2 separate regions of the Homo sapiens genome follow, and region 1 is linked to region 2. The links are contacts of gene promoters, found by promoter capture Hi-C in blood cells and fetal thymus (Javierre and others, 2016). All regions are on one chromosome and are shown on one strand. Each heading gives the region's core, a stretch centred on a gene start or on the middle of the fragment in contact. The rest is flanking DNA. Distances are from core to core; before and after follow the strand shown.

Region 1 (6,875 bases), core at 347-2,846, 2.0 Mb after region 2:
TTTATATTTTTTAAAAAAATTATAAAAATAAAATTAGCAGCATCCCTGGTTTCAAAAAGTAGAAATAAATAAATAAATAAAAGTAGCTCACAATATTTCCTGAAAACAGGTGTATTAAAAGGGCAGAGGAGAGGGAAGGCAAAGAAAAAGAAAAAAAAGGTGGCAGGTTACATACATACAATCTTGTCTCTATAAAAGCTCAGAAAACATCACGTGACTAGGAAGTTTCAAATGCCTCCAATATAACATGGAGGAGAGGAAAAAAACTGTTCCTGGACAAAGATACACATTTCTTCCAAAAGGGGGAGTCTTTCTATATATTTTGTAATATCTCCAGAGCACAGCATAATGTTGGTACTGCCATTTTGGCCTTTGTCATTAGGAAGGTAACCCACATAAGCCTAACTACAAACACCCTTACCTGTACTAAAACTTCACTCATATTTAACTGAAGCAACATTGTTTTTTGTAAATATAACTGTAACAATTATTCTAAAAGGCAATACAGCTGTCCTCACCAGTTATGTTCTTGAGACATCAGTTGCAACAAACTTATATGTAAAAAGTATTCAAAAAGTTTAAACATTGATCTTAACTGGAGAGGGGTCTGCACTTGAACAAGTTTTCTTGCTACACACATTGCATTCTAAGATTTCGGACTCACTTTTGAATATGCAAAGACATTTCATGGTTAAGACCACAAAAAGGCTGATCAGAGAACATTTTTATTTAAATTGCCATTTTAAATATCAGTCGTTTTATCTTAAAGCTTGTCCTGGGTTTAACAAAGTTTAACTCACATCCACGCGTTGTCTCTCCAAACACAGCAGGCAGAAATTCTCCTTTGATTGGATTAAGATAGATAAAGTCTGCTTAACCGTGAATCGCTAATTGTCAAATCCATGCCAATTCGGTACCTAGGAGTCAATTTTTTTGCCTGATAAACAAGATAATTGTGTGGACCGTTTTAAGGTGGTTAGTCATCTGCTAAATTGGCTGAAATGCGGATTACCCAGTTCCTTCGTCGTACAGAGTTGCATTCTGAGGAGTGGGGCTCGGGGATACAGCCCCCAGAAATTCTGAACCTCGGTCCCGCAATCTACCACACCACCTAACCTTGGAAGGCCAAACTAACTTCACTATTTTTGACAAAATGCTTTGGTAATGGCTCATTCGGGCCGAGAGGGAAATTCTGCAATTCTCCAACCCACACCTCCAGCAAGGGGAGAGCTGCTTGAGTGGTGAGCACAAGCTGGGCACCTCCGGCGTCTCCAGGAAACGTGAATAGGCCCTTTCTTCGGAGGGCACAGAACTTCAGGATCAGGGCCCAATGGAGACTGAGCGGACTTAACCCTAACTGTGCACAGGACCGCGCTCTCCGACCCCTTTGTGGCCTCTCCCAGAGGTACGGGCTGCGCCCCAAGCCAGCAGTCTCTCGTAGGGCCTACAGCCGGCAGCCGCTGGAGCAGGAGGAGGAGAATAGGGACTCGCTGGACCATCACAAACGCTGTCGCGCGTGCGCAGGGAGGAACCGAGTTCGCGGCGAAGTCAGTTTCCTGACTCTTGAAGGAAGTGGCCTTGTGTCACTTCCGGCCTCCCTTTAGCTGCCATCTTGCGTCCCCGCGTGTGTGCGCCTAATCTCAGGTGGTCCACCCGAGACCCCTTGAGCACCAACCCTAGTCCCCCGCGCGGCCCCTTATTCGCTCCGACAAGGTACAAAAAGGCTCTGGACGGCGGCGTGGTAGGAGGACGGGAGCGGGGGCGGGAAGTTCCCTGAAGGAGCGAGACAGGGAGGGACAGGGCAGAGGAGGAGAGGAAGGCGATGCGACGGACAGGCGCACCCGCTCAGGCTGACTCTCGGGGGCGAGGTCGAGCCAGGGGCGGCTGCCCTGGGGGCGAGGCGACGCTGTCTCAACCTCCACCTCGCGGCGGAACCCGAGGACAGGAGCCTCAGGTACCGCGAGGCTTGCGGAGAGTGGCCGGGCCGGGCAGGCCCTGGCTAGGCCGAGGCCAGGCCAGGGCCAGGGGTGGGGGGTGCTGGCCAGGCGTGGGGTAGAGCCTTTCATCCGGGCCTGCCAAGAGCGGGGAGCTGTGGGGGAGTGGTGGGGAGGCGGGTGCTCTTTGGGCTCCCTGGAAACCCAAATTTGGAGCTTTGCGGGGTGGATTTGGGATCCAGGTTTCGGCCTGTGTAGGACGTTTATTTTCCTGCTGGTATCTTGGGAAATAACGAGCATGGAATGCTAGAGTGAGCTAAACCTATCCTTGCTGAGGATTTCCTCTTTTTCTAGATGAAAGAAACAATCATGAACCAGGAAAAACTCGCCAAACTGCAGGCACAAGTGCGCATTGGTGGGAAAGTAAGTTTTAATAGTTCGGGTTTGTGGGTTTTTTTTTTAAGGTTTAGGTATTTTAAAAAACATATTCCTTTTGCGCTTCTTATATTATCGGTGACAAACTTTGCCTATCGAGGGAAATTCACGGAGCTAGCAAATCTCGAGGAGCGGGGGAGACGAGGGTTGGAGACACATCAGTGAGACGAGCTAAAAACATCGCCTTTGTGTAAACATGTTTGTGTTTTCAGTGTTACAGAGTGTAAGTAGAACACAAAAGTGTTTCCTAATTTAATTAGTAAGGAAAATGTGTCATTTCAGTTAGATCGTTGTGCACATCATACCCTTGACTTGTTTTGGCCTGAGTTTTCTAAAGTCAGTGCTTGTTTGTCTCTCTTGTAAATTGAGACCTTTCTGTACTGCTTTCTGAACTAAATATTCTTTAGGGTAGTTGCATATTTCAAGGGTATTTGAAGATACGGGTACATTTTGGAGTTTAAGAGCAGTGACTATTAGATTTGAAAATATAACCCAAGTAGGTATCTTTCCTGTTCTGACTTTGTATTACTGTAAAAATGAGGGAATTAAAGTGACTGATTTTTAAATGATCAGTTTTTGATTAATTGTTTTTTTCCTGGTGGATACTGATTCACATCAAGGGGATTCTTTTTTGAAGCTGATTTTTAGATTGTCCTGTAATTAATAAGAAGTCCACTGTAGACAGAGGTCTACCTAGTTTGTATTGTTAGCACATTCTTAGTATTTAACAAGGTGTGGTAGCTTGTTGAAACAGAGCATGTCTTTACTTGGTAAAACTTGTAAAGCTTCCATGGTACATGTTTATTACCTTTTAGTTTTTCCCAACTTTAAGCGTTTAACTTAGAGTTAGCTGTGAGATAGCCAGAAGTTGCACTTAGACTTAAATAATAATATACAGCTTTGTTAAATTACTGAACTTTGCCAGCGGTGAATTTATCCTGATTTTTTTTTACTTTTTATTTTTGTTAACGTTAGCCATCTTCAGGATCCACACCCACACATTTAACAACATTAGATGTTTCTTGTCCTCTTTAATCAATTGTTATCAGACTGTGGCCTTCAAGTGCCAGCAAAACTCAAATTTTTTGTGTCTCAGTGTTTGGATGCTCTTATATTGGTGTTTTTAACCACTCTTACTTTCAGTACAGTTTCAGAAGGAGTAATTTGAATAATGTGCTTATGTGCAGTCTTTTTGTTGTTACTCTCATCATTAGGCTTTAACTTTGGGAGACATCATTTTAGGGTAAAGGAAATCTTGAGATTTGCTAGGATATTTAAAGCTGATAACAAGATTAAATTTTGTGTCCTAACATCTTAATACTCGTTTAGCTAATAATACAAGAAGTATTTCTGTAGTCACAATATGGAAACATTTCTACACTGTTTAAGAAACGTACTTATTATGGGATGTGAAATTAGGTGAGTTAATTTTGCTTTAGAGAAAACTGCAGGTGTTAGGTGCTCTTAGGTAAATGTTACAAAAGCCCTTTATTTTCATATCTAATCACAGCATTAATAATAATTATTTAAGTGAAAATTGAACTCTACATATGTGAAGTGTATGAAACCTCTAGAAAGTATGCTGGGTTTGTCTTTACAATCTTAGAAATTCCTTTGAGTTTCTTAGAGAAGATTTCTTTGGAAACCAGATACATACATGACCATTTCAAAGTGATTTTTGTACTTAATAGTTTGGAGAGGTTAGTAACCAGTACTTTTTTTTTTTTTTTGTAGCCATAGATATTTTCTTCAGTTAAATAACAAGATTTATTTAAGCCTTTACTATGTTGGATCCTGAGAATATAAAATTTTAAGAAGTTTAAAGTCCCTAGGTGGGCTTTAAGCCTAGCAGTGGCGATAATTGTCTTTTCTTAAAAAAATCTTCTTTCACAGTGTAATATACATAGTACAATAGTAGAAGCATTTTCAAAATCTAGAGATGGGAATGATTTGGCATAGGGAAAGGGGGTAATTGCAGAATTTAGGAAAGGCAAACAGGAGGTAATGACTTGAATAAGATTTTAAAGGATGAATAGGAATAGGGATGGAGGTTGGGGGACGGTGAGGTGGTTGGGTGTGATAGACTTTCCTTGAGTGCCTTCAGTGAGCTAGATACTGTTGTAGATACTGGGTTTATAGCAATAAACAGAAGTCCTTATGGAGCTTACATTCTAGGGAGAGGAGATGGATGATAAAATGTATTTATCTCTTATAGTAATAAGTGTTATGAAGAGAAATAAACCAGGATAGAAAGAAATTGATGAGTGAGTGTGGAAGTTGCTATTTTACTTTGGGTAGTTGAGAAAGACCACTTTGATCAGGTGACATAAGAGTAGAGATCTGCAGTGAGGGAAAGAGCCATGTAGATGTTCCGGAAGGAGAGGAACAGCATGTGCAAAGGCCCTTGGGTCATAGCCTGCTTGGCCTGTTCAAAGAATAGCCAAGGTTTATTGGCTAAAGAAGAGGGATGGTAGCAGATGCAGTCAGGAGTGGCATATTAAGGGCAGGACAGTTTGTGTAGGGCTCTTGTAAGTTAAGGTAAGGGCTTCAGACTTTACTATCGAGTCCTATAGAAGTCTATATACAGATTCATTTGATTGTTCCATACACTGTCTTGCCTGTAAATATTAATTTGGATGTTGATTTTTATTTAATATAAAAACAGAAAAGGGGTCAGGCGCGGTGGCTCACACTTGTAGTCCCAACACTTTGGGAGGCCGAGGCAGGCGGATCACTTGACGCCAGCAGTTTGAGACCAGCCTGGCCAACATGGTGAAACCCCATCTCTGCTAAAAATACAAAAATTAACCAGGCATGGTGGTGCCTGTAATCCCAGCTACTCGGGAGGCTGAGGCAGGAGAATCACTTGAACCTGGGAGGCGGAGGTTGCAGTGAGCCGAGATTGCGCCACTCCAGCCTGGACGACACAGTGAGACCCTGTCTCAAAAAAAAAAAAAAAAAAAAACAGAAGAGGTTAATAATTCTGGATGTGGAATTCTTTCAAATGCTTAATTTAGATTGACACATGCTACCTCTTTGATCACTTTTAGAGCAAATGTAAAAAGTAGAACTTTGAAAAGATCATTCTTTTCCTTTCCCATTTTTTGCTTCTATCTTCGCCTTAGCCTGCCTGCTCACTGCATAAGTTTATGATTATGGTAATGTTCTTATACAGATCCAAAGGTCAGAAATGAATTGGAAACTATTCCCATTTGAAAAATATCTGTTGTGGTATAAATGTGCTGTTTTCTTTCCTCTTCTCCCTGACTTTAGGGAACTGCTCGCAGAAAGAAGAAGGTGGTTCATAGAACAGCCACAGCAGATGACAAAAAACTTCAGTTCTCCTTAAAGAAGTTAGGGGTAAACAATATCTCTGGTATTGAAGAGGCAAGTATCAAATTTTGTTACTTTAAAAAACAAGATTTGGCTGGGAAAAGTTAACGTTAATGCATTAAATGGGTTGTTTTTTTTTTTTTTAACTTAGGGACTTCAAAGTCCCTAAGATGTGTTTCTACCATAAATTAATAAATATCAGGGAGCTCATTAAGTCTGAATGCTATTAGAATACATATTCCATTCCAGGCAAAATTTCACCTGTGCTTCACAGTGAAATACTAGTTAGCCAGACTTAGTTTAATAAAACATTTGTTTTTAAAGAGACTGGTCAGCATTGCTAATTTAAATTTTTCTTTTCTTAATAGGTGAATATGTTTACAAACCAAGGAACAGTGATCCACTTTAACAACCCTAAAGTTCAGGCATCTCTGGCAGCGAACACTTTCACCATTACAGGCCATGCTGAGACAAAGCAGCTGACAGAAATGCTACCCAGCATCTTAAACCAGCTTGGTGCGGATAGTCTGACTAGTTTAAGGAGACTGGCCGAAGCTCTGCCCAAACAATGTGAGTTTCCTAGTAATGGTTTTACCAGGGAATTACTCATTTAGCAGCTGATTTCTGATCTCAGGGCTCAGAATGGATATGAGTATTTTTAAGTTTGGAAATGCAAGCTTTAAAAATAACAGATTTGTAACTGATTTTAAGCAACTGTCCTTGCTCAAGTTTGCAGTAATTGATGTAGCGTGCCATGATTGTTACACTTGATTTTGTGGAATGTTTTCTACTTACTTGATTTGGATCAGATACTTTATTAACTAGAAATGATGAAAATGTTAATTTGGTGCTTTGCCAATAACTACTTGTAAGTTTGGAATTGAAAAAAAAATTAGTGTAAATTATGAAATTACTTCAGTTTCATCTATATAGTTCGTATTACCAGTAATCTTTTAAAAATGGCTTGCCAGTATTCTGGCATTTTTAATTACAGTGTGATAGGGATTTTATTCGGGGCAGAAAATAGTGTAGCTGAATATACATCTGAGGATGTGGCAGTGTTATGCTGTTTTCTGTGCTTAAAATTTTGAAGAATAGGAATGCAGGAGGAAGTCAGAGGCTTATATATGGCTCTTTAGTTACCCATGTTTTTCTAGGTATTGACTTAATCTG
Region 2 (7,037 bases), core at 4,064-6,563:
AAAACTGCTAAGGTCAAGAATATTCTTTAAATGTTTTAAAATAATTATAACACGTTTCTTATAACGAGAACCGAAGCCCGTGGAGACTTGGCGGCGCCGGGAGCCCTGCTGCTACACACGCCTGGGAGAGCCCAGCGAGAGCCCAGAAAGCGGGTTCTGTTCTGCCGGAGGGATAGGCGTGTGTGGATTTTCCCCACTGTGCGCCAGGCACAGGGGCTCCACCAGCTCCCCACTTTTTTTTTAATAGGAAATCACAATAAACACTACAATATCTTACTTTTTGGCAAAGCACATTAGCTTTCATTCATCCCCTTGCGGAGGCGGAGAGGGGCGGATGGAGACTGAACAGATTGAGGGTAACTGCAAAAGGCACTGTCCTTTACATATTTTCCTTCCTTATTCTAAACACAACTCTGCAAGTTAGGCTTCATTGTTTTCATTTTGCATAAGAGACAGACTTAACTGCGTAGGAATTGATATGAGAATAAAATTTAAGACGGACTCTAAAGCATATTTATTTTCCAGTTTATTCCAGTGCCCTTGTCACGATCCACAGTGCTTCAGGAGTTTTAGGCTACTGACTGTGCTTAGGTTGTTCGGTGGGGAGAGAATGGCAGGGAGTGCAGTCTTAACCACAATTCAGAATAGCCCAGAATAACCTCGGAACCTAGTAAAAGCTGTGGACCATCTGCCATTGGTAGAAACACGTGTAGAGATGCTTCTGTGGCTCATGTAGCGTATAATTACTTCATCTCTTTCATTGTTATACACACACACACACACACACACACACACACACACACACACACACACACACACAAAAGAATAAAAACAAAAAGAGGCCGGGCGCGGTGGCTCACGCCTGTAATCCCAGCACTTTGGGAGACCGAGGCGGGTGGATCACGAGGTCAGGAGATCGAGACCATCCTTGCTAACACGGTGAAACCCTGCCTCTGCTAAAAAAAAAAAAAAAATACAAAAATACAAAAAATTAGCTGGGCGTGGTGGCCGGCGCCTGTAGTCCCAGCTGCTGGGGAGGATGAGTGAGGCAGGAGAATGGTGTGAACCCGGGAGGCGGAGCTTGCAGTGAACCGAGATCGCGCCACTGCACTCCAGCCTGGGCGACAGAGTGAGACTCTATCTCAAAAAAAATAAATAAATAAAAATAAAAACAAAACGATAACATTGTTACAAACTGAGATGATTTGGATACCCCACATTGCCCTATATTTTAAAAACTTTTATTTTGGAAGATCTGAAATTTATACAGTACAAAAGCATTAGTAACAAGGATAACGAATCCTCAAGGAGATGCGACCAAACTTCAATTATTACCTCATAAAATCGTCTATTTTAGAGAAGGTGGAGAAAGTGAAGACTGAGGAGCTCTGGAGATGAACTGTCTGGGTTGAAAGTCCATCTCTACTAATTAGTAGCTGTGTCAACTTGGACAGTATTTCATTATGTTAAAGCGTTCTTACCTGTAAAATGGGGAGGTATGTACCTTCTTCATTAACTGAATTAACGTATGTGAAGTACTAGGTCCCCAGCATATGGTAGAACTCAATATGTTAGCTCTTACTGTCATTATTCTTTCAAATTCAGAGAGCCTCGCACACATCACTATCCTATCCCCACACCCCACCTCTCTTCCTTAATACTGCTAGCCTCTGCTTCCACTTAGTGAAGTAACTTGAAGGGAAAAGATTGACTTTCTGGCACCGTGTTTTGTTTTGGAGACAGTATCTAACTCTGTTGCCCAGACTGGAGTACACTGGCGCAATCTCCGCACACTGCAGCCTCAGCCTCCCAGGTTCAAGCGATTCTTGTGCCTCAGTCTCCCAGTAGCTGGGATTACAGGCGGCTGCCACCCTGCCCCGGCTAATTTTTGTATTTTTCGTAGAGACGGTTTTTTGCCTTGTTGGCCTGGCTGATCTTGAACTCCTGGCCTCGTGTGATCTGTCTGCCTCGGCCTCCCAAAGTGCTGGGATTTCAAGCATGAGATTTCAACCATTCCAACCTCTGGCACAGTTCTTTATAGAGATAAGGTCATCTAAAGAGGGAATGGGGTGGGATTGGAAGGTAAGTGGTAGAGTTTTTTTGTTTGTTTTGTTTTGTTTTTTAGACGGAGTCTCCCTATGTCGTCCAGGCTGGAGTGCAGTGGTGCGATCTCAGCTCACTGCAAGCTCTGCCTCCTGGGTTCACGCCATTCTCCTGCCTCAGCCTCCCAAGTAGCTGGGACTACAGGTACCCGCCACCACGCCCAGCTAGTTTTTTGTATTTTTTTTCGTAGAGATGAGGTTTCACCGTGTTAGCCAGGATGGTCTCGATCTCCTGACTTCATGATCCGCCTGTCTCGGCCTCCCAAAGTGCTGGGATTACTGGCGCAAGCCACCGCGCCCGGCCGGTGAGTAGCAGAGTTGTTTTTGTACGTGCTCTCAATTTAATCTAATTGAACATTTTTCTTTGCAGCTGAAATTTTGCAGTTCTTAAGTTGTAGGGCTACACATGATATACCCCATGTACACAAAATGTGTTGTGTGTGTCTCTCAGAGAAAAGTAGAGATTTAAAAAATTCGTATGATGCCACTAAGAATTTACTCCACAAACTTGTGTAACAAATGTCTTATGACTTTATATTTAATAATAAAATTTAATCTGATTCTGTTCCCATCCCTTTACTGGTGGGAAATTAAATCTTAGTCACTATTTACTTTCTGACCTGTAAAAACTTGGGACAATGCCCTAGTCTCTTAAGTGGAACAGAAGACCATCTGGGGAAAGGCCCTGTGTCTTCAGTTGGTATCAGAATATGCTGTTCAAAGCTGTGTAGACCTGGCAGTGGCTCCAAGATTCCTGAGACATCTTTAGCAGGGTATTCTCTCGAATTCTTGAGCTTCTTTAAATAAAGAAGATAAAACTGAGATACTGTTCCTTTTCCAGAGTATTGCAGGGAGCCCACGGAATCCACAGACCTCCTCTTTTCTCTTCCTTCCTTCCTTCCTTTCTTTCTCTCTCTCTTTTTTTTTTTTTTTTTGAGACAGGGTCTCACTTTGTCACCCAGGCTGTAGTGCTGTGGTGTGATCTTGGCTCACTGCAACTTCCGCCTCCTGGGCTCAAGCAATCCTCCAACCTCAGCCTCCTGAGTAGCTGGGATTACAGGCAGAAGCCACCATGCTCAGCTAATTTTTGTAATTTTGGTAGAGATGAGGTTTCACCATGTTGGCTAGGCTGGTCTTAAACTCCTAGGCTCAAGTGATTCGCCTGCCTCAACCTCCCAAAGTGCTGGGATTACAGGCACGAGCTGTGCCTGGCCTCCAGACCTTCATTTTCTTCATAGTCTTAGAGATATATGTTTTCTCTTCTCTGCTTTCAGTCTTGCCTTCCTACTCTCAAAAGCACTTGCCTCTTTTTTGTTCTCCCTTTAGGTGATCAATTTCTTCAGTCAGTTCAGAATTTTATTCCTTTGACCTTTTGTTATTAATGTATCACCATATTCTTGTAGGATTTTCTTTTCCTTCTAAGAAGAAAGTCAGGCCTTTGTGTTCCCATGAGTCAGGGGATTTGTATCACTGGTTCAAACATTGGCCCAATACCTCCAAGGCCAACCTCAGCTCTGGCTATTTTTCCTCTCATCATAGAGGACTTCCCTAGCCACTCTACTGCCAGCCTCCCTCCCATTACTTTCTATCACATCATCCTGTACATTTCTCTCTTTTTTTTCTTCTTATTATTAAATTTTTGTTTTAAGGACAAGGTTTCACTTTGTCACCCATGCTGGAGGGCAGTGGCACTATCATAGCTCACTGCAGCCTGGACCTCCTGCCTCAGCCTTCCAGGTAGCTGGAGCTAGAGGTGGGAGCCATCACAGCCACCGCATGTAGGTAATTTGTTTTAGGGGTCTCAATATTTTGAGCAGGTTGGTCTGGAAGTCTTGGGCTCAAGAGATCCTCCCACTTCAGTCTCCACAGTAGCTGGGATTATAGGCGTGCCTCGCCATACCCGGCATTCAACCCTTAAATTTATTTCATGACATTTGATATACTTTATTTTATTGCAATTAATTAATTAATTCATTTATTTTAAGACAGAGTCTCACTCATTCTGTTGCCTAGGCTAGAGTGCAGTGGTGCCATCTTGGCTCCCGGCAGCCTCCACCTCCAGGGTTCAAGCCATTCTCCTGTCTCAGCCTCCCATAGCTGGGATTACAGGCTTGCACCACCAGGCCTGGCTCATTTTTGTATTTTTAGTAGAGATGGAGTTTAACCATGTTGGCCAGGCTGGTCTCGAACTCCTGACCTCAAGCAATCTGCCTTGCCTTAGCCTCCTAAAATGCTGGGATTACAGGCATGAGGCACCCACGCCGGGCCTGATACATTTTAAAAATATCTTGTTCATTTCTTTTTTGTATTTTCTCCTCCCAAATCCAGAACGTCTTGTTTACTGCTACCTCCTGAAGCAGATTAAGAACACTCACAATAATTTACAAGGTTTCAACTATAATAATTTTTAAACAGGCTGGAGTGTAGTGGTACGATCTCGGGTGATACATTCATATTAAAAAGTACACAAGGAGGTTGGGCGTGGTGGCTCACGTCTGTAATCCCAGCACTTTGGGAGGCCAAATGGGTGGCTCGCTTGAGCCTAGGAGTTCAAGATCAGCCTAAGCAACATGATGAACCCCGTCTCTACTAAATATACGAGAAAAAAAAAATTAGCCGGGTGTCGTGGCGCGTGCCTGTGGTCCCAGCAACTTGGGAGGCTGTGACGGGAGGATCGCCTGAGCCCGAGAGGTGGAGGCTGCAGTGAGCCAAGATCGCGCAACTGCACACTCCAGCCTAGGCGACAGAGCAAGACCCTGTCTCAAAGGACAAAAACAAAAAAGTACACAAAGGCGTACGGTAAATGGTCTTCCTACCACGACGTGTTTTCCAGAAACACATTCCTCTCCTGGGAGGTAACTATTATCAGTTTCTTCACACCAGCATTTTTAATCTATGTCTACTCAATTTAGAATTTCTAAACCCTTCAGGATCTTCAAAAGACAAAATCGGCCAGCGATTTTAATAGTTCCAGTAAAGGTTTGAGCAGAGAAGTGGACTTTCTTCTGTTCCTCTTTTCAACTACTCCTAAGGACTCCTGGAGAAGAAAGAGCAAATATCTCTGCATCTCAATTTCTGGTCCGCAGGTAACCCAGTCTCAGTAGCTTGGTAGTTACCATGGCTCCCAGTGCTGTGCGTCTGACGTCATTCTGCGGCGCTGGCTGATGGCGCAATCAGTTGCGGCGTCCTGTGAGCGCGGGGATGCTGGGAGGAGGGTGAAATTTAGCCATCGGTGTGTGGCAGGGTCATGAAAAAGCGGCGGCGGCGGGAGAGAGGAGGAGGCGGCGGCGGGGCAGTGAAACTACGGTAGCTGCCCCCTGAGCTGGTGGTGTGGCTTTGTGGGGAGGGCGTAGTTCCTAATCCCCTTTCCGGGCAGCCGCCGGGGCTCGGGGCTGTGAGCGGCCGTGAGGCTGCCTCCCCGGGCCCCCTGCCTCCGCCATGTTCCGCAGGGCACGCCTTAGCGTGAAGCCGAATGTCAGGCCTGGTGTAGGCGCCAGGGGCTCCACAGCTTCCAATCCCCAGCGTGGACGGGAGTCTCCCAGGCCGCCGGATCCTGCCACGGACTCTGCTTCCAAGCCCGCGGAGCCCACAGATGTGCCCACAGTCGATTTCGGTGGAGCGGAGCCCCAAGAAAAGGCTCCTAGGAGCAGGTAAGAGGTTGCAGAGGGAAGAATTTTCATTTGTCCCGCCTCTCCGGGCATGTCACCTGGAAGCTGAGCAAATGAATTTTATCACAGGAGTCCGCTCTCGTTTGCAGTAAGCCTTTCAGTTGAGGCTTGATGAAACCACTCCAAACTGCAGTTTAGTTGTCTGACCTGCAGGGTGTGGCTTGTGTGGATTTTGTCACGGTCTATAGATTCTCCGAGAGGAGACCATGTCTTCAAGTGGTGGTAGGGAGAATCGGGGTATGGCAGTCCTGAAGTGAAGAATATCCACACTATTCATTTGAGAATTTAGGTCACTATAGTTTTCATCCTTCTGGAGTGCTTTGCAGGGAAGTGTTTTTGTCTTTCAATTTATAAAATATTTATTTTTTAAAGGAGAAGATAAGTATTGCTTTGGCTTTACCGATTTATGTCAGTGAGTAAGAGTTCTGGTCACTTAATTGAAGTGTGCCTCTTTAACTATGGTGACCGTGTTTCCTGAATAGAGAAGCATGGCTTTAGCGTCATGTATCATATTTGGATTCAGGACTCTTTTAGTCTACAGGTAAACTTTTCTCAGGCAGAATTTGCTCATCTGCAAAATGGGAATAATATTGCCTACTTGGAGCGTTTTGGTGCAGATTGGAGATAATTCATATTAACTACCTTGCAGGGGATATAGCAGAATAGTTGCCCGCAAAAAGTTACTAGTTTTTTAGAAAGGTGATGGAGTAAATTTAAGACATGTTAGGCTAAGATGGTCTCTGTTTCTATATATATGAGGAAATCAGTAAACAGCCTTGTTAAGTGAAGTGAGATAGTACAAATTCTGTTTATGCTGTGATAGGAAGGTGAAACATTTATTTATTTTTGGAACATCTTCCTCTATTGGCCTGAACTGGTGCTGAGTGTATGGTGTTACGTTGATAGTTCAGTGATGGTTAGTAATTTCCAAGTTTATTACATGAATCTGTTTCAAAATTTCTACACAGAAAGGAGATACCGATACTAGTCGCTGTTACATTAATAAAGTTCTCAGAGATTTCGTTAATTATGTGTGAGTGCGTGATGGTTGATAATTTAATAAATTGCCCAAAGATTGTAGTTTTGAGATATTTATGGTCAAGGATATTTAATTTTTTTTTTTGAGTTGACATTTACGTTTGGGGAATATAATTTGTTTTTTAGTCACTTTTTTTGCCATTACTGACTCTGGGAAAGTGGTTTTTTTTTTTTTTTTTAATTAGTTTTTTTTTTAGATGGAGTCTTGCTCTGTCGCCCAGGCTGAAGT

What was found. Contacts are between HindIII fragments. The CHiCAGO score rates a contact against its expected background, and 5 or more counts as called.
Region 1: the fragment with the promoter of BTF3 here is called in contact with the fragment with the promoter of BDP1 in region 2 in 4 of 17 cell types (total CD8 T cells, naive CD4 T cells, fetal thymus and 1 more); the score reaches 6.4 in total CD8 T cells.

Annotation. Positions count from the first base shown.
Region 1 is chr5:73,496,846-73,503,720 of GRCh38, forward strand. BTF3 (basic transcription factor 3) reads left to right here and starts at 1,597. Exons shown (of 6, transcript NM_001037637.2): 1 at 1,597-1,954; 2 at 2,289-2,357; 3 at 5,643-5,756; 4 at 6,071-6,272. The coding sequence starts at 1,823. It overlaps BTF3-DT (BTF3 divergent transcript), which reads right to left and starts at 1,475. Exons shown (of 1, transcript NR_186388.1): 1 at 708-1,475. RefSeq lists enhancers at 1,432-1,491, 1,522-1,821, 1,585-2,395 and a silencer at 2,032-2,081. The HindIII fragment of the contact is 2,385 bases long and covers 768-3,152 here.
Region 2 is chr5:71,450,338-71,457,374 of GRCh38, forward strand. It overlaps BDP1 (BDP1 general transcription factor IIIB subunit), which reads left to right and starts at 5,314. Exons shown (of 39, transcript NM_018429.3): 1 at 5,314-5,752. The coding sequence starts at 5,541. RefSeq lists enhancers at 4,249-5,175, 5,176-6,101. The HindIII fragment of the contact is 8,261 bases long and covers 1-7,037 here.